7 separate regions of the Homo sapiens genome follow, and regions 1, 2, 3, 4, 5 and 7 are each linked to region 6. The links are contacts of gene promoters, found by promoter capture Hi-C in blood cells and fetal thymus (Javierre and others, 2016). All regions are on one chromosome and are shown on one strand. Each heading gives the region's core, a stretch centred on a gene start or on the middle of the fragment in contact. The rest is flanking DNA. Distances are from core to core; before and after follow the strand shown. Region 1 overlaps CWC27 (CWC27 spliceosome associated cyclophilin). Region 2 overlaps CWC27 (CWC27 spliceosome associated cyclophilin). Region 3 overlaps LOC107986419 (a long non-coding RNA gene). Region 4 has its middle 270 kb from the start of CWC27. Region 5 overlaps CWC27 (CWC27 spliceosome associated cyclophilin). Region 6 holds the start of ADAMTS6 (ADAM metallopeptidase with thrombospondin type 1 motif 6). Region 7 has its middle 260 kb from the start of CWC27.

What was found. Contacts are between HindIII fragments. The CHiCAGO score rates a contact against its expected background, and 5 or more counts as called.
Region 1: a fragment that was not itself captured here is called in contact with the fragment with the promoter of ADAMTS6 in region 6 in 16 of 17 cell types (M0 macrophages, total B cells, M2 macrophages and 13 more); the score reaches 41.3 in M0 macrophages.
Region 2: a fragment that was not itself captured here is called in contact with the fragment with the promoter of ADAMTS6 in region 6 in 10 of 17 cell types (total B cells, M0 macrophages, M1 macrophages and 7 more); the score reaches 9.9 in total B cells.
Region 3: a contact is called between a fragment that was not itself captured here and the fragment with the promoter of ADAMTS6 in region 6, in 14 of 17 cell types (total B cells, naive B cells, activated CD4 T cells and 11 more). The highest score is 16.7, in total B cells.
Region 4: a contact is called between a fragment that was not itself captured here and the fragment with the promoter of ADAMTS6 in region 6, in 16 of 17 cell types (total CD8 T cells, naive CD8 T cells, activated CD4 T cells and 13 more). The highest score is 22.6, in total CD8 T cells.
Region 5: a contact is called between a fragment that was not itself captured here and the fragment with the promoter of ADAMTS6 in region 6, in 1 of 17 cell types (activated CD4 T cells). The highest score is 7.4, in activated CD4 T cells.
Region 7: a fragment that was not itself captured here is called in contact with the fragment with the promoter of ADAMTS6 in region 6 in 14 of 17 cell types (activated CD4 T cells, total B cells, non-activated CD4 T cells and 11 more); the score reaches 14.8 in activated CD4 T cells.

Annotation. Positions count from the first base shown.
Region 1 is chr5:64,968,612-64,971,311 of GRCh38, reverse strand. The region is part of intron 11 of CWC27 (CWC27 spliceosome associated cyclophilin); the gene reads right to left. Among named protein-coding and RNA genes, the nearest start is that of CWC27, 200 kb to the right of the region's middle. The HindIII fragment of the contact is 1,688 bases long and covers 443-2,130 here.
Region 2 is chr5:64,987,695-64,990,394 of GRCh38, reverse strand. The region is part of intron 13 of CWC27 (CWC27 spliceosome associated cyclophilin); the gene reads right to left. Among named protein-coding and RNA genes, the nearest start is that of CWC27, 220 kb to the right of the region's middle. The HindIII fragment of the contact is 1,844 bases long and covers 367-2,210 here.
Region 3 is chr5:65,058,555-65,061,254 of GRCh38, reverse strand. All of the region lies in intron 1 of LOC107986419 (a long non-coding RNA gene), which reads right to left. Among named protein-coding and RNA genes, the nearest start is that of CWC27, 290 kb to the right of the region's middle. The HindIII fragment of the contact is 3,142 bases long and covers 1-2,700 here.
Region 4 is chr5:65,039,149-65,041,848 of GRCh38, reverse strand. No RefSeq gene overlaps it. Among named protein-coding and RNA genes, the nearest start is that of CWC27, 270 kb to the right of the region's middle. The HindIII fragment of the contact is 8,098 bases long and covers 1-2,700 here.
Region 5 is chr5:65,005,523-65,008,222 of GRCh38, reverse strand. All of the region lies in intron 13 of CWC27 (CWC27 spliceosome associated cyclophilin), which reads right to left. Among named protein-coding and RNA genes, the nearest start is that of CWC27, 240 kb to the right of the region's middle. The HindIII fragment of the contact is 1,652 bases long and covers 516-2,167 here.
Region 6 is chr5:65,480,573-65,483,272 of GRCh38, reverse strand. ADAMTS6 (ADAM metallopeptidase with thrombospondin type 1 motif 6) reads left to right here and starts at 1,353. Exons shown (of 25, transcript NM_197941.4): 1 at 1,353-1,930. RefSeq lists enhancers at 1,151-1,200, 974-1,473, 1,241-1,600. The HindIII fragment of the contact is 619 bases long and covers 926-1,544 here.
Region 7 is chr5:65,022,974-65,025,673 of GRCh38, reverse strand. No RefSeq gene overlaps it. Among named protein-coding and RNA genes, the nearest start is that of CWC27, 260 kb to the right of the region's middle. The HindIII fragment of the contact is 3,595 bases long and covers 1-2,700 here.

The DNA of each region.
Region 1 (2,700 bases), core at 37-2,536, 510 kb after region 6:
CAATTACCTGCCACTTTTGTTCCCCAGTTATAACAATAACAACCTTCAATTTAATGGCATCATAGAAAATAAATATGTCTAACAAATAAGTCAAAACAGTTAGCAAAAGCAGACAAAAATAATCTTTACTGAATTAGAAATTAGAAAACAAATCTATAGGTTTGAACCTGCAATAATTCTATGTGAAGATTAGTTAACATCTTGGTTCATAAAACACAGTTTTGCCTCAAAAACAAACAAGCCAACAAACCCAACTAGTAACATTTTATAATACCTCACATGTGTAAATATCAATGAAATTTGTGACTAAAACACACACACACACACACACACACACACACACACACACACACTCCCTCTCTCTCTCTCTCTTCTCTTTGGCTGGAAGACAAACGATAAGCCAGATGTAATCAAGAATGCTAGTAATCTGTCTACCAAAGCTTTAGTCTGTTAGTTGTCTCTTTGTTATCTAGCTTGAGGAACATCATGAATATGCAATCTATTAACAATCAGCCATTTTGTTCAAGAGATTTTCTGGTCAAAAAAAAAATTTGAACTAAGAAACAAGTTATCTTTTTGTGGTTACCTAATATGATTTTGGTAGAACTTGGAAGGAGAGTCCTGGTTTCAAAACTGACAGCTGCAAACATTAAAAACTGAGCACATTAAGGAAAAATGAACCATTAAATACAGAAATAATATCTAAGGCACACATGCCTAGTAAAGACTAGTATAAAGAGTATGCCATCACGACTGGTATACATGAAGTGATTCTTATAGTAGGTTTAAAAATTACTTTCGGCCGGGCGTGGTGGCTCACGCCTGTAATCCCAGCACTTTCGGAGGCCGAGGTGGGCGGATCACGAGGTCAGAAGATCGAGACCATCCTGGCTAGCACGGTGAAACCCCATCTCTACTAAAAATACAAAAAATTAGCCGGGCGTGGTGGCGGGCGCCTGTAGTCCCAGCTACTGGAGAGGCTGAGGCAGGAGAATGGCGTGAACCCGGGAGGCGGAGCTTGCAGTGAGCCGAGATCGCGCCACTGCACTCCAGCCTGGGCGACAGAGCGAGACTCTGTCTCAAAAAAAAAAAAAAAAAAATTACTTTCATATTTTTCTACTGAATTACATCTTTGAATACCTCTCTTCTTCTTATCCTACAGTAGTTAGATTTGCATTGTCCTGGGATAAAGAGCAAGCACTTTAAGATGACTTAGGATCCCTACATGAGGCAGTTAATGCTTTGCTTTCCAGTTACGTCTCTCAAGAGACAACTCCTTTGCCGTATCCACCTTCATGTGCTTTCACTTGGCTGATAACTAGTATTCTTAAACCCTGCTCTCTTGACCAACCATCCGCCTTTGCACATGCTTTTCTTCCTTCAGGGATACTGCAAATACTTCATCTCTCCGTTCTTGTTAATTCTCCTTGCTTAATTCCGGCTCCTCCTTTAGGTCTCAGCTTGGTTGGCACTTCAGTGAGCCTTTTCTGATTCCGTTCTTGAAGTCTGGTTTAGATGTCTCTCCTTTGAGCTTCCAAAGCACCCTTTAGCACTTATCACACTTTATGGCGATTTCCTGTTTACTCTTCTTTAAACTCACTAGACATTAACTCCTTGAGGACAAATCATATTTGTCCTCATTTTTTTTTCTTATTTCATTTCATGTCCTCATTTCATTTTCTTAAGTGTATCTTTCAAAGATACACTTAGGACAGTGCTTGGCAAGTGATTCAATAAATAGTCAAATAAATGAAGTAATAATGTAATTGAAGAAGGGGAAAATAAGAAGGTGTAGGGTAATTTGCCCTCTTCCCCTCGCCAGCCTCAGTTATAGTTAGCATTTGCCATGCACCTGGAATCTCCTGTTCCATTGCATTTAGGGAGTCAATAATTATTTTCTGCCATTTCCTAGGGCAGAAGTTTGTAAAATTCTAAGGAAAATTGTGATGGGTATCAGTAGAACTGTTTAATGTTTTTATGGTTAAAAAAATGCAAAAGAGAAAGGACAAGTTCTTTGCTTACATTTTCAGCTAAAAAAGATTGAAAACCTTTATGTGTGGTAAGAATTTTGCAATAAATGGAAAAGATATAGATGAATTCTGCTATCTCATGTCATAGGTAAGTTAAGCTTACAACTTTCAAAACAGATTCAGCATTGCTTATTTTAATGTTTCACACGCATCTTCTTGAACACGGTCCCTTTTAGCAAGGACCAACCACTTAATTTCACTTATTAGGAATGTGAAGGAAGTAGGAAAATGTTTAAAAAGTGCTATAAAGAAGCCTTACAAATCAATTTTAAAAAGTCAAGGATAGGTACATTTAAGTATATAATAAAGCATGGAAATTCTGTAGCTATGTTGTTTATAATACTAAATGGCCTTTTAATAACTTAGAAATAGCAGTCACCTCATTAAGGAAACTAAATGCATGAAATGATAGAATTTTTAAAAACAGCTGTATTGAGGTAGGCATTACATATAGTAAAACTCACTAATTTTGTATATAAAATGTGATGACTTTTGGTATTGTATAGAGCATATAACTTCCACTGCAATCAAGATCTAGAAAAGTTCCACATACCCTACAAAGTGTCCAAATGTCTGTTACAGTCAGTTTTCTTTTTCTGGCAATGAGGCATCAGCGATCTGCTTTCTGGCACCACATTTTTGCCATTACTAGAAACTCATACAAATGGGA
Region 2 (2,700 bases), core at 39-2,538, 490 kb after region 6:
TACTTGGGAGGCTGAGGAAGGAGAATGGCGTGAACCCGGGAGGCGGAGCTTGCAGTGAGCCGAGATCCCGCCACTGCACTCCAGCCTGGGTGATAGAGCGAGACTCCGTCTCAAAAAAAAAAAAAAAACAAAAAAAAAAAAAACAAAAAAAAAACAAATAAAAACTCTAGAGCTCTGATAAAGGCTACATAAAGCATAATGACAGTAACTAGTGAAAATATTACTCTCCAAAAGTTGATGAATGAATATTTGTCTTGCAGTTGATCATTCAGTTGAAATTCTTGGCAAGAAGAACAAGAGGGAGTACTTTATAACTAGTGAATAGAAAACAGATAGACTTCCTTAGAGATTATTTAGCAACAAGCTTTTAGAGTAAAATACACTCTCCTTTTGACTCCATGAACTACCAGTATTGCTTTTTTTTTTTCTCAGATTAACTGAGCCAAATACCTTTTATTAGCTTGATTTAAGCATCAGGTACTAGCCTATTATGCACCATCTGTCAGCTGGGGATCTCTGTACCCCTCCACACCCCACAGAAATCTAAATCTCTCCAAAGAATTTCTGCTAATTGTCAGCATGTCTCATGATCATCAGGCCTCCTTTGCCTCTTGTGCTCTAGCTTCCTCTGGCCTACACCATGCAAAAATAATTTGAATCTCTGCCATCCTGAGTCTCCAACCAAACAGCACCCACAAGAGCACAACTTTACTGAAGGCTGTTAAGAGATCCTGGAGATAGGTCATGTCAACCACTGCACCTCTCAATACCAATCCCTCCCTTTCTTCTTATCTCAAGATAGCAGTTTGGTGATCACCTTTTGTGATTTGAGGATGTTCCTAAGGTACTGTTTTTCAACTTCTCTCTGGTGAACCATATCAAGGCACAGTGCTTTTCCCAAGAAATACATTATTCTCTCTAATAGCAATTCATTGCCAACTATTAAGAAATCTTTTTTTAAAGAAAAAAATTTGCTCATGCTGAGAATTATTCAGTACCATCTAAATGTTTGTTTTTTAAAAAAGGATCTTAACAGAACCTGAAAGAAATGAGATAGCCTACTACATGAGACAATTTGGCATAAGCCAGTTTGAGACAACTCACTAGTTATACAGAAATCTTAAAAGAGGAAAAGCAGAACAGTACATATGTGAGAATCTCCAAAGGGGTTTGGAAAAATGGTAGTATTGATAAACAACTCTGAGAAGCTGTGGCCCCAAGAGAATGGGATAAAACCCTGCTGCTTTTCCCCCTTTCTTTTCTATCCCAGCATGGCTCTGAATGAGGGCACAGTTGCAAAAAGTGCATGGTAGAACAGTGTAACTAAAGATCCAACGTTCTGGCTGGAGGAAGAAAAGGGGAGGCCCACGACAATAGAAGGTATTGAGGAGACTGTAAAGGGAAAAGGGAATCCATAAAGTCAGTGCATGTGTCAATCCAATGCTAAACTGCATATCAAAGACTCTGAGAACTTAACTAAAAGATAGTCTAGGCTTGGCGTGGTGGTTCATGCCTGTAATCTCAGCACTTTGGAAGGATGAGGTGGGTGGATCATCTGAGGTACGGAGTTCGAGACCAGCCTGACCAACATGGAGAAACCCCGTCTCTACTAAAAAATACAAAATTAGCCACATGCGGTGGCGCATGCCTATAATTCCAGCTACTCAGGAGCCTGAGGCAAGAGAGTCTCTTGAACCCGGGAGGTGGGGGTTGCAGTGAGCCAAGATTGCACCATTGCACTACAGCCTGGGCAACAAGAGTAAAACCCCGTCTCAAAAAAAAAAAAAAAAAATAGTCTAACAGCCAGGTCCCACGCTGGACAGCGGGTGGCGTATACATGGGACAGATACAAATAGCAATGCAAATGCATTGAGAACAAGACTAAGATTGAAACCAAATCCCACAGAAGGGTGATCAGAACTTGTGGCCTGAACCCAAATGGGTTGTCTGCTATAACATAACATTTTTCATAGGATTTAAATAAGACCCAGAGACTCATAATATTCAAAATGTTTAGGATACAATAAAAAAAAATTACTTGGCATAAGAGAATCATACAAATCTTAACTTGCACGGGAAAAGACAATCAACAGATGCTAATACTGAGATAACAGGCACTGGAATTATTTGACACAGACTTTTAAACAGTTATTGTAAAAAAGCTGAAAGAAGGGCAAACACTGTTGAAATAAATGAGAAGACAGAAAGCTTCAACATAAAAATAAATACAAATAAAAGTTTTAGAACTGAAAAATACAATAATCAAAATTTAAAACCCACTGCAAGGGCTCAGTAGCAGAATGGAGGTGACAGAGAACACCAAAGGTCTAAAATTCATGTCACTAGAGTCCTAGAATAGAGAAGAAGGAATGTGTTGAGGATAAAATAATTTAAGAAATAATGTCTAAAAACCTCCCAAATTTGGTGAAAGACACAAACCTACAGATTCAAGAAGCATAGCCAACATCACACATAGTAAACCCAAAGGAATCTATACCTACTCATGCAAATCAAACTTGCAAGAACAAAAGATGAAAAAATCGTAGAGAAAAATAATGCATTATTTATAAGGAAACAACAATTTGAATAAGTAAAGATTTTCCAAAAGAAACCATGCAGAACAGAATTTGGTGGAACAAACATCTTTAAAGTGATGCAAGAAATGAACTGTTGACCCATAATTCTGTATTCAGTGAAAAT
Region 3 (2,700 bases), core at 150-2,649, 420 kb after region 6:
TTTTCCTAATGAGGCAAGAGCATTTCATGTGTTGGAGACATTTTTAAAAGCCAGCATTTCCTAGAAAAAGTGAGTGAGAAAAAAAGAAAAGTCAACTTCACACCGTGTTGTGAAGAGGGAGTAAAGTCTGAACTCCAAAGCACCATTTATAAGATCAGCCCCTGCCTTTTCCTTGTTCTATCTCCCATTGTTCTCCTCTGCAACCTTTGTTCCATCCACACTGTTCTCCTGCTGTTGTGCTGTTGCATATCTGTCCTCTCTCCCAGCATAGCCCCTGCCTCATTCCTCTCCCTGCTCCCATCAGCTGAGTAGCTCCTACTTGTCTTTCACAACCGAGGTCAGTACCTCTCCCCTGGAAGGTCTTCCCTGCCGACCTGAGCTTAGGCAGGAGCCATCCCATGTGCACCCAGTGGATTCTTCTGTCAAACCCTTACCATTCTGCTTATTTAGCTCCTCAAAAGCAGGGACTGAATTTTATTATCATTCTCTAGCTCTTAATGTCCTAGGCTTCAGGGATACTTGGTGAACAAGAAAGTCAGGCCATCTGGCTGTGAACTAGACATCTCTACATGGATGTCTCACTGGCTCCTCATACTAAATTAACCTGTGCCTTTACCTGGCATCTTTATCATTCAACCTTATCAACCATCTTTGACTCTTTTCTCTCTCCCCCACCTCCTTTATTTAATCATCCACTAAATCCTGTGTATTTAAATAACAATCAGACTTAGAGCTTAATATGCTTTAGGCATTATGAAAAGTCCTATATAGGTATATGTTAACTCATTTCAGCCTCACAACAACCCAAAAGGTGGAGTCTCTCATAGTATACAGATGAGGAAATTGAAGCAAAAGAAGGTGAGTAATTTGCCTGAAGTCACACAGCTTAAAAGCGATGGAGCTAGGATTGGAACCCAGGCAGTCTGGATTCAAAGCCCTACCTCCTAAATATTTCTCAGTCCCACAGGCCGCCGTTACCTCATTCCTCCTGCAATCCATTCCCCATAATGTAACCAGAGCAATTTTTCCAAATAAACTCTCCTTAAAAACTTCCACTGCTCCCTAACATACTCTAAACAGAATTCCAATAACTTTAGACACTGATAAGCCCTTTTCCTGTCTGCTCTTGCCCACCTTCCAGCCTTGACTCTTGCGACCCTTCCTCTCAAAGCCTGAGCTGTTCTGCAGTTGGTTTCTGTGTGTGAAACATTGTAGACTCATTCTCCCTGCTAGCCTTCAGCCTCATCTTAGATGTGACTTACATCAGGAAGCCCTCTGTATGAGTCTGTTCTCACACTGCTATAAATAACTACCTGAGACTGGGTATTTATGAAGAAAGAGGTTTAATTGACTCACAATTCCACAGACTGTACAGGAAGCATGGCTGAAAGGCCTCAGGAAACACAAAATCATGGCAGAGCTCAAGTGCCTAGAGTGCAGCAAGGCTGTGCAGGGCAGCATGGCCACAGGCCTGGCCCATGAAACCTTTCAGTCCTCCTAGGCCTCCGGGCCGGTGATGGGAGGGGCTGCCACACAAAGATCTCTGAAATGCCTTGGAGGCCTCTTCTCCATTGTCTTGGCTATCAGCACTTGGCTCCTTTTCACTTATGCAAATTTCTGCAGCCTGCTTGAATTTCTCTCCTGAAAATGGGCTTTTCTTTTCTACCACATGGCCAGGCTGCAAATTTCCCAAAGTTTTATGCTCTGTTTTCCCTTTGAATATAAGTTCTAGGCTGACTGTGATGGTTCATGCCTGTTATCCCAGCACTTTGGGAGGCCGAGGCGAGTGTATCACTTGAGGTCAGGAGTTTGAGTTAGTCAGCCTGACCAACATGGTGAAACCCCATCTCTACTAAAAATACAAAAATTAGCCAGGTGTGATGGCAGGCACCTGTAATCCCAGCTACTCAGGAGGCTGAGACAGGAGAACCACTTGAACCTGGGAGGTGGAGGTTGCAATGAGCAGAGATTGTTCCACTGCACTGCAGTCTGGGCAAGAGTGAGACTCTTTCTCAAAAAAAAATATATATAAATATAAATATAAGCTCCAAATTTAGGTCATTTTTTTTGCTCACGTAATATGTTGTTAGTAGCAGCCAGGCTACATCTTGAATGCTTTACTGCTTAGAAATTTCTTCTACCAGATATCCTAAATCATCATGTTCAAGTTCAAAGTTCCACAGATCCCTAAGGCAGGAGCACAATGCAGCCAAGTTCTTTGCTAGGATATGATAGAAGTGACTTTTGCTCCAGTTCCCAATACATTTTTCATTTCCACCTGAGACCTTCTCAGCCTGGACTTCACTGTCTACATTTCTATCAGCATTTTGGTCACAAACATTTAGCAAGTTTCTAGGATGTTCCAAACTTTTTCATCTTCCTGTCTTCTTCTAAGTTTTTACAGTCTTCCAAACTCTGCCTGTTACCTAATCTCAAAGCTGCTTCCCTTCCACATTTTCAGGTATCTTTATAGCTCTACCCCACTTCTGAGACAAAATCTCTGTTTTAGTCAGTTCTTGCTGTGCTATAAAAAAATACCTGAGACTGGATAATTTATAAAGAGAAGAAATTTAATTGACTCACAGTTCCACAGGCTATAGAGGAAGCATGATTCTGACATTTGCTTGGCTTCTGAGGAGGCCTCAGGAAACTTACAGTCATGGTGGAAGGCAAAGGGAATTGAGGCATCTCACATGGTGG
Region 4 (2,700 bases), core at 38-2,537, 440 kb after region 6:
CCTGCCCCTTTAAGTGTCTCTGTCTCCTGGGCAGATATGAGCACTGTATTCAGAATTACTAATCTTTTCTGGGACCTTTTCTCTAAATTCCAAATCACATAAGGGGAAGTGGTGAGGATGAACCTTCCCCAAACCCCACATTTCTGTAGCTCTAGAGGATATTGACTCATGGTGGAGCATTTATTTCAAATAGAAAACAGCACAAACCAAAAGACTTGAGGAAGTACCTCCTCCCACTCTTGTTTCCAAATTCCATTCAGGTTTGGAACTTTTTGAACAATTTTTATTTTGAAACATGAAAAGGTGGAAGAATCCAGCCTCTTTCTGCTAAGAGTAGACATAAAGATAAGCATCTCTCCTCAAAGGTACAGGATTATGTTACCCTTCTGGAATCCTGGTAGCCAATTCAAGTTGTTTTTGAAGCACAATGCTACCCATGAGGCCCAAACCAAAAGAACCAGACATTCCAGATTGACTCAAATAATTCCATTTTTTAAATGTAATGTTCTGGCACCTCTGTGATGACCATATTTGTTCCAGTTTTCATCACACCCTGTGATATTGAATGGCAAGACCAAGAACAAAATGCTTCTTTGAATAACTCCGCTGCCTTCCTACCTTGAGGCTGTCAGGTATGGGATACAGTTTGTTGGGAATTAAAGGAAAACAAAATTTCCACTCAAGAATTGAATTCTTTCAACAAATATAAAGAGAGGAAAAATTGTTTTGTGGTTTATTGTGGGGAAGAGAACTCTTAGAAAAAACAATAGGAGGAAATTCTCAATAGAAACTATGGATCTTTGATGAACTTTTCATTTCTGCATGATTAGAGAATTATTAACAGCCAAAACAAAACCTATTTTCTTCTTACTGTGTCTTATCCAAGTATTTAGTAGGGAGAAAAATGACATTAGCGACTATTGAGCCATTTGATTCCCAAACACATAGTAACTTGGCTTTGAAGGCAAGTCACAATGCTTCTAGGAAACCCCAAGATGGGAAGATTAAACTCTTTTCATTCTCTTTGAACTATTTGGAAACATTCACAGCTTGGAGCTGGGATGTCCATTCTATTGTCCACGGAGTTAGCTGTGTTGTCTCTGACTCCACAAAACACGAGTTTCTAACTGAACTGGGAGAGAGTTCTCCTGTACTGTGTCTAGTCTGTGTAGGCCAGACTTTATCAGTTTTTGGTACTCTGTGATAATTACCCTTGCCAAACACACTTGTCAGAATTATTCCCTAAAACACACTTGATTAATGGGCTTATCAATACCATTATATCTTGAATAATGCATATTAGTCCCAGATGACTATCTTTTCAGTTAAAAAATGAATTTAAACAAAGTGTAAATGTAAACATATTTCCAACTCAGAGTTCCATTTCAACCACTGAAGCACATCCTAGCACTAAGTCCTTTATTATTTTTGACGTTTATGACTTTGTGTTTGTTGGAAACAAGTTTTCAGGTGGCTATATCTGTTTTTTTATATTTATGACTCTTTTGTACTTATTGGAAATAAACAAGTTCTCAGTCTTCTATCTGTAAAATAAAACAAGAACTGCTTCACAAGAATCTTAGGATAATTAAATAAGATGATAGACATAAAGTAGTGGTCATATAGTAAGTGTTCTATAAATATTATGACTTAATTCCTTTAGCTCTATGGTAGACATACAGAGATTTGGGGAGATGATTTAAGTATATTAATTTTTATCTTTTTTTTTTGAGATAGAAGTTTTCTCTTGTTGCCCAGGCTGGAGTGCAGTGGTGTGATCTCGACTCACTGCAACCTCTGCCTCCCAGATTCAAGCGATTCTCCTGCCTAAGTCTCCCTAGTAGCTGGGATTACAGGCATGCTCCACCACACCTGACTAATTTTTTTGTATTTTTAGTAGAGACGGGGTTTCACCATGTTGGCCAGGCTGGTCTCGAACTCCTGACCTCAGGTGATCCACCTGCCTCAGCCTCCCAAAGTGCTGGGATTACAGGCGTGAGCCACCGCACCCGGCCTCTATTTTGTAATTAATATATTTACTTTTCATTGTAAAACAAGGGATTTCTATAGCAATTCAGAGCTTAATTTTTGTCTGTTAGCTAACTTACAAAATTTAAGCCTTTCGCGATTTGCTTTCAAGGCCCTCTGCCCTTTGGGTCCTATTGTACACAACCCTTTTCATGCTCCCAATTCATCAGTCCCTGTCCTGTCCTTTCACACATTCCACAGTTTCTTGTATCATGTTTCCCCTATCTAAAAAACTTCTTTTCCATTTCCCTTTATTATAATCTCATTCTTCCTTTAAGGTCCAGTTCAATCATTCTTTTCTTCTACAAAGACACTTCTGATTTCCTTGGTCCAAAAATAATGTCTCCCTCATAGTCATTCTTATGAAATTGAGTATTTTTAAACAATTTCAAATTTAGAAGAGGGCAACATTTACAGAAAACTTGCAAAGATTGCACAGAGATTTCCCACGTACTCCTCAACAAGTTTCCCCCAATGTTCACATCTTATATTACTATGGTCTATTTGTCCCAACTAAGAATCTAATATTGGTATACACACTGAACGCTTGTAACTTACGTTGTAGCTGACTATTAACTGTAAAATCCTTGAAATCAGGCTGTGTGGCCCTTAGTTTACTCATTCTGTAATATGTACAAAGTCTTTGCTTACCATTGAGCACCAAGTGGGAAC
Region 5 (2,700 bases), core at 92-2,591, 480 kb after region 6:
CTGGTGTATTACTAACATCTTACATTAGTATGGTACACTTGTTATATTCAATGAAGCAATACTGATAGGTTGTTATTAAGTAAAGTCCAAAATTTATTTAGATTTCTTTAGTGTTATGGACCAAATTGTGTTCCTGCAAAATTCATACATTGAATACATTCATACATATACATACAAATATACTATGTGACCATATTTGAAGATAGGGCCTTTAAGCAGGCAATTAAGATTAAATAAGGTCATAAGGGTGGGACAGCAATCCAATAGGACTTGTATCTTTATAAGAAAATGATGAGGCTGGGCACGGTGGCTCACGCCTGTAATCCCAGCACTTTGGGAGGCCGAGGCGGGCGGATCACGAGGTCAGGAGATTGAGACCATCCTGGCTAACACGGTGAAACCCCGTCCCTACTAAAAATACAAAAAAATTATCCGGGCATGGTGGCTGGCGCCTGTAGTCCCAGCTACATGGGAGGCTGAGGCAGGAGAATGGCGTGAATCCGGGAGGCGAAGCTTGCAGTGAGGGGAGATTGTGCCACTGCACTCCAGCCTGGGGGACAGAGCGAGACTCCATCTCAAAAAAAAAAAAAAAAAAAGAAAATGATGAGACATGAGGAGCACATGAGCACAGAAGAAAGACCATGTGAGGATACAGCAAGAAGATGGCTGTCTGCAAGCCTGGAAAAGAGACCTCACCAGAAACCAATCCTGCTAGCATCTTGATCTTGGACTTCCAACCAACAGAACTGTGAGAAAATAAATGTTGTTTAAGCTACCCAGTCTGTGAGATCTTGTTTATAGCAACCCAAGTAGAGCAATATCCTTAGCTTTTACTTGATATCCTTTTTCTGTTCCTGAATCCCATTCAGGATACCATATTACATTTAGTTGTCATGCCTCCTTAGCCTACTCTTGGCTGTGGCAAGTTTTCAGAATTTCTCTGTTTTTGATCACCTTGACAGTTTTGAGGAATACTGGTCAGATGTCACAGGGCTGCAATTCAACATTTTTCTCATGATAAGACTGGGCTTATGGGTTATTGGGAGAAAGGCCTTAGATGTAAAATGCCATTAGCATCACATCGTTTCAAGGGTACATACTAGCAACATGATTTATGACTGTTAATGTTGACCTTGATCACTTCACTGAGGTAGTGCTTGTCAGGTTTCTACACTGCAAAATTACTCCTTTCTTTCTTTTCTTTCTTTCTTTCTTTCTTTCTTTCTTTCTTTCTTTCTTTCTTTCTTTCTTTCTTTCTTTCTGTCTTTTTAAATAAACGTGTATTTTAGGTTTGGGGGTATATGTGAAGGTTTGTAACATAGGTAACGTGTCATGGGGGTTTATTGTACATGTTATTTCATCATCCATGTATTAAGCCCAATACCTAACAGTTATCTTTTCTGCTTGAAGTTACTCTTTTATTTCTTGCTTTCCATGATGTACACTTTGAAAGGAAGTCACCATGCGTAATCCATACCTAAGGAGTGAGAAATTATGTTTCCCTACTCTTTTTATTAGAACATTTTGTGGCTATATTTGTTTGCATGTTTCTCTCCCTCCTTCTACTGGTATTTTTATTTGAATTATATTAGGTTTATAAAATAATTTTTAGGTAATTTGGTTTTTGTCAAAAATTAAGTATTCTAGAAACATAGTATATCAATGTACTCCTTTAATAGGTTGCAGTTTTCTTAATTTTACATAAAGATTTTAATAAATCTTTATAAAGGCTATTGCCAGGTAATTTATATTTGGTGAGTTAGAATCTTAAAAATTATGTTTTCATAATTTCAAAAATTATGTGGTTGTTTCAGAGCAACTATGACTTTTTGTGTACTTATTTTGTATCTGGTCACAATACTGACCTCTCAGAACTTTTGGTAGATAGCCTTGGATTCTTTAAATATGCAAGTAACTTAGCTTCCTGTATTCCATTTTACAAATGTGCAACTAAAGGTCTCAGAATTAGTTGCCAAGCTGAAGCCAGATTCCTAGTTCACTGGAAAACTTGGAAGCCTAAATATGACTAATACTTTTACAGGTACTTTTGCAGCTATTGAAAAACAAAGAACAAAATAGTGTCTGGATAATTGTTGACTATGCTAACAAACATTTGGCACTTATTATAATGTTAAGAAATCACAAGCAACACAAAAATCACAAAGCTTTAGATTCATTTCAAATGAGTTAATTAAAACAAGCTATATAAAGAATGATGACATTACTAACACTAAATATCAAAACCAGTTTTTCTCCTATGACTCTCGGTTTGCTTTGGCTACTGTTTAAAATATAAATGGCTGTTTTGTTTTAAATTTTTGATATTTTCCTAGGATTTCTAGAGTATGTTTTAAAATATTACTTGGATGCTTTTATTTCTATATTTTATAACTATCAAATGTAATTTTTAGGAAAAGCCTTATGAATATTTAATTTTAGGGCTTTTCTCTATTACTGATTACAAGTAACTTAGGGTTCTCTTTTCATAATTGTTCACAGATTCTTTAGGAATTAAGAAACTACAGGGTTTAGAGAGGTTTACTTCACCCACTACCAGTGCTAGTGTGTGTTGTCCAGGGAAGAGGGGATCAGACTGCCTCATCTACTGCTGTTAGTGCCTATACTTGTTGTCTGGGGGCCTGAGGACAGGCCTGCCCCATCTGTCACCACCAGTGGTATCTGCACACATTATCTGGGGTC
Region 6 (2,700 bases), core at 104-2,603:
TTTAAGAGCTGGTATTCAGAAAGATCATCCTTCCTACCCCCTTCCCTCCGGTCCAGTTCTCCTTTCTGGTTCTCACCATCGGAAATTGACTTGGCATTAACTAAGGGCTGGAATTTCAAGGCGTCAATTTTCCCCTGCCCCCAACCTCGGAAACTCTTAAACAGCTCCCTATTCTACACTCAATGGTAGAGACAGATAAATGATGCAGCAGATTACACCGTTGAAAGGCAACATTTGTCCTGAGCTATTTTCACATTTTTTCCTGTTTCCGATGTATGTGCCAGACTTTGTTTGCTTGCTTAGGACATGGAAAACACTGGGCATTTTCTCCCCAGCGGCTTTCATTCTCAGCAAATGAAAGTGAAAGTGCTACATTGTAGCGGTATTTTATCCTTAAAGTCTGGACTGGCAGCTTGTGTGTAGGGGGGAGGGAGGGTGGGATTGGGAAGGTTGAAGAACCAGTTTTGAGGTTTTGTTTGTTTATCTTGAGATCGCAGCAGGGTTCCTGTTTTTTTCCCTTCCTTTTTTTTTTTGGTGGTGGGGTCCTACTTCGGATTTATTTTCATTTGGGCAGTCATTGAAGTTTCATTCAATGGACTGACTTAAAAAAATACACTCCACTTGTGGCTTTTCCCGGTTGCACTTTAAAACACCATCCAGTCTCACCCTCATCTGGAAATAATGCAAGCTTCTCTCTTCCTTCCCCCGCTCCCTCCTCCCCTACTTTTTTTTTTTCTTCTTCTTCTTCTTTTAAAGCTCCACATAACCTGAAGTCGATAATCAAATGGAAAATGTGCTGGTATTAGTTTACTTTAGTTTACTTTCCCTTTTGGTGCTAACCTTACTTGCTGAAGTATGTATAAAACACAGGCATTTTGTACACTTGTAGCTACTGAGTCTTGTGCCTGCTGCACGAATCTAAGCTTTAAGTTTCCTCAGAGGCACTGTTTGCGTGCAAGTTTTAACATTTTGATTGTGTGGATTTTAAAAATAAAATTACACGGAGAATGACACCAGAGATCTTAACAGTGACATTAGTCCATCTAAAGTCATTCATCCTTCTCCCTCCCCCTTCATTTTTCCAAGAAACAACTAATAGCAAACCAGGCTAGAATTTCTAAGAGAGTTTAGAGGAGGAGGAGGAAAAGAGGCGGAATGAGATAGGACAGAGAGGTTAGAGAGGCCAGAATTTCTCTCATTCACAGTGTGGAAAAGTTGACATTGTCTAAGCCCTTCTGAATGGCTGGTAGTTGGTTACCCCGATTGTACCTCTACCTCCCCTCCCCCTCCACGTGACGACCCAGGACACATGCGCACCCGACGCAGCCCAGGCACATCTGCAGACTGACGTCAGTGTGCTCTGCCTCCGAGGAAAAGCTGCCAAAATTTTCTCCTGCTGCAATTCAAGTTGGCTGGGGGCCGGTAGTGAGATCTAGGGCTACTTCAACAAAACTTTGCTGCCCTTCCTGCTCCTCTTGTCTTCTTTTCTCCTGATACCTTTTGATGCTCTGCACATGTTATTTGCATAGCAAAGGCACTAAGCTTTCCAGGAAGAGAGGGCACCACTTCCACCCCCAATAAGTCTTTTTTCCCGTCTTTTCTTTCTTTTCCTTTCCTTTTTTGGGGGGTGGGGAGGGAGAGAAAGGGGGTTTGCAAAGGCAGCATCTCAGAGTGATAGCCTAGATGTATTGAAGGCATCTCTTATTCTGCCAAATCGGAAAGTCAGTTCTCTAAAGCCCGGGTTAGCCAGACCATAGGGTTTTATTCTGGCTGCAGAATAACTGGCTGGTGTGGCTTTGCAAAGGGGGGCAAAAAATAAAAAAATAAAAAAAATTAAAAAAAGTTAGAGAGGAGAGGGAGTACGTGAGTCGTCCAGTGCAATCTCTATTGTCTGAAACTTACTTTTTATCAGAATTTGAAGATGAAAACGGTAAGGAAGACTTAACAATATTCAATGGAGCTTTTTTTTTTTAAACCAACAACTTGTGCTTTGCTTGTCTTCCGAATAACGCTTAGAAAACTTTTTTTCTGTGTGTGTGTTTTTTTTTTTTTTTTTAATGGCAATGAGTGAGCTTGACTGAACTCATTTTACAAATAGATATCTTTTTAACTCCAGACTTGTCGGGGGTTGTAGAATTCTGGGACTTGCAGTTATTTTATGATGCAAAAAAAATACGTTTATTTTATGAATATACAATACATGTTTTGTGAAGTGGACTTGATTATGATTATTGTAATCTTTTAACTGATCACCAAATAGTAATCCGGAAGGTAATAATGATGTGTGTGTTTTAAATTGATTTCCAGTTTTCTTACAGAAAAGTCTTATGCATTTTGTAGTTTCATGTCAGTGTCGTTAAGTCTTCAGACAAGTGCATATTTTATGCCTGGGCTCAGAGGGTAGCATTAATGTGCTAGCTGTAGCCCCGATGCTCTAGGACATGTTAAGCTCTTAATAGGCTAATCAAAGAGATGGAAACGTGTGTTTTTGATTTACTTTTGGCCACTTGGGACGTGCTAGACTCATAACCCTCCGGAGCCTTGTTTATCGGGGTAGGTCTGTATATATGGTGTATGGGACCAAAGTTCAGGGATTGAGGAGGGAGAGTGAGAGTGCAGGAATGGGGTATTGGGAAGCCTCTTTCTGATAATATGTGCTACAATTCCTGTCTTTGATGCTTTCTTTCCCTGTACTAGAGG
Region 7 (2,700 bases), core at 33-2,532, 460 kb after region 6:
TCCTTTCCTTCATGGAGGTCATTCTAGGGCAGGAGAGGGATGATAAAGAATAAATTAACCTCTTTAAGGCTCAGTTTCCTCATCTATACAATTGATAGCAAGAGTCCCTACTTCATGGGGTTGTTTGTAAGAATTAAGCAAATAAGGCAAAGTACGTGGGAGTTAATAGCCCTATTGAATACAACTAAACAGGGAGATTGAGAGACTGAGCGTGTGGGAGGGGTGGCTGGAATTTTAAAGTAGAGTGATTATTGTAGGCCTCATTGAGAAGGTGCCATTTGAGTAAAGACTTGAAGGAACTGAGGGAGTTGGCCATGTGGACATCCTAGGGGCAGTATTCTGGGTGGAGGGAACAGCCATTGCAGAGGCCCTGAGATGGAACACACCTAGCTTACTTGATGAACAGCAGGAAGGATAGTGTGGCTGGTGCAGAATAAGTGATGGAGAAGGTAGTAAGAGAGAAAGTCAGAGAGACTGAGAGGAAGAGGTGGTAACTGCAAAGAGCCTTAGGCCTTTGTAAGGACCTAGGCTTTTACTGTGAATTAAATGGGGAATCATTGAAGGGTTTTGAACAGATAAGTATAACAACATGACTTGTTTTATAAAGTGTAACTGGCTTCTATGTTAATAATAAATTATAGGAAAAAAAGGGTGAAAGTTTATTATAGCAGTCCACATGACAGTTGATGGTCCCTTTGACTAGGGTGGTAGCAGTGGGAAGTAGCAAATAATGGTAAAATTCTGGAAATATTTTGAAGGTGGAGTCAACAGAATATCATAACAGACTGAATGTGTGAGATAAAGACTGGAATCCAAGCTATTTGGCCTGAGTAACTGGAAATTGCATTATGGGCAATGCAATTATCACGTTGCCCATAATGGAGATGGGAAAATTACAGAGGAAGCAGGTTTGGTGGAGGCAGGGCTGGGAAGTGTAGATGACAGTTACATTTTGGACATGGTAGGTTTGATGGACATTATGGAATTTCACTCTGAAATGGATCTAGTCCTCACATAATATCATGTATAACTTTTCCAGATTAATTTAAAAATCACTTGTTGAATTCTTTTGTTCCTTGGGAAATAGTATCCCATTCTTAATTAGTCTATTCACTTACGCCAATAATATGGTATTGTTACAAAGTTTTGTAATAGAAATAAAATGGTCATATTCCTCTTATTCTAAATAAAATATTTCCTTAAAATTGCAAATTAAAAAATAATACACACCACACAAAAAGAAGGAAACCTTCTAATTGTAAGTTTACTCACAGCTGTTGAGAATGAACCATACAACATATACTTTAGTCATTTATTTTCCATACATGGTATGCTTCATTTCAAATATATTCTTTTTTTTTTTTTTTTTGAGACGGAGTCTTGCTCTGTCGCCCAGGCTGGAGTGCAGTGGCGCGATCTCGGCTCACTGCAAGCTCCACCTCCCGGGTTCACACCATTCTCCTGCCTCAGTCTCCCGAGTAACTGGGACTACAGGTGCCTGCCACCATGCCCGGCTAATTTTTTGTATTTTTAGTAGAGATGGGGCTTCACTGCGTTAGCCAGGATGGTCTGGATCTCCTGACCTCGTGATCCGCCCGCCTCGGCCTCCCAAAGTGCTGGGATTACAGGCATGAGCCACTGTGCCTGGCCTTTTTAATTAATTAAATAATTAATTTATTTATTTTTATTTTTTTTGAAACAGATTCTCGCTCTGTTGCCCAGGCTGGAGTGCAGTGGCATGATCTTGGCTCGCGGCAACCTCCGCCTCCCATGTTCAAGGGATTCTCCTGCCTCAGCCTCCTGAGTACCTAGGACTACAGGTGCGTGCCACCAGGCCCGGCTCCTTTTTTTTTTTTTTTTTTTTGAGACAAGAGTTTCGTTCTTGTTGCCCAGGCTGGAGTGCAATGGCATGATCTCAGCTCACCACAACCTCTGCCTCCTGGGTTCAAGCCATTCTCCTGCCTCAGCCTCCCGAATAGTTGAGATTACAGGCATGTGCCACCACGCCCGGCTAATTTTATATTTTTAGTAGAGATGGGGTCTCTCCATGTTGGCCAGGCTGTTCTCGAACTCCTGACCTCAGGTGATCCACCCATCTTGGCCTCCCAAAGTGCTGGGATTACAGATGTGAGCCACTGCACCTGGCTCATTTTTGTATTTTTAGTAGAGAGAGGGTTTCACCATGTTGGCCAGGCTGGTCTCGAACTCCTGACCTCAGGTGATCCTTCTGCCTCAGTCTCCCAAAGTGTTGGGATTACAGGCATGAGCCACCGCTTCTGGCCTCAAATATATTCTTATTAAAGTGTTTGAATATCATAATAAATCTCTAGAGTAAATTCAGAAAATAAATAGGAAAGTCACTTGAGTGTCCTGCTTTTAAAATTATCCTGATTACTTTTAAAAAGTGCCATAACTTTAGCAATGACTATCATTTTTGGCATCATGAGAATGAGAAAATAATAATTTCCTAAAAGACCAAGAACAGCTTCTTTCTGACTGGTGCTGTGAAGAAAGCCTCCAGAAGATGTTTAACATGAATTAGCACCATGATCTAATCTTAAGGAAATAATTCCCAGCAGATGTGGAAAAGAGAGGGACCAGACTCCTGTCTGCATTTCATTTAGAAGCCAGTCATCTTTCCTTTTCAGGTAGGATTTCTCACCCCCAACCCAAAATACAGTTTAAAATAAATTAAATAAT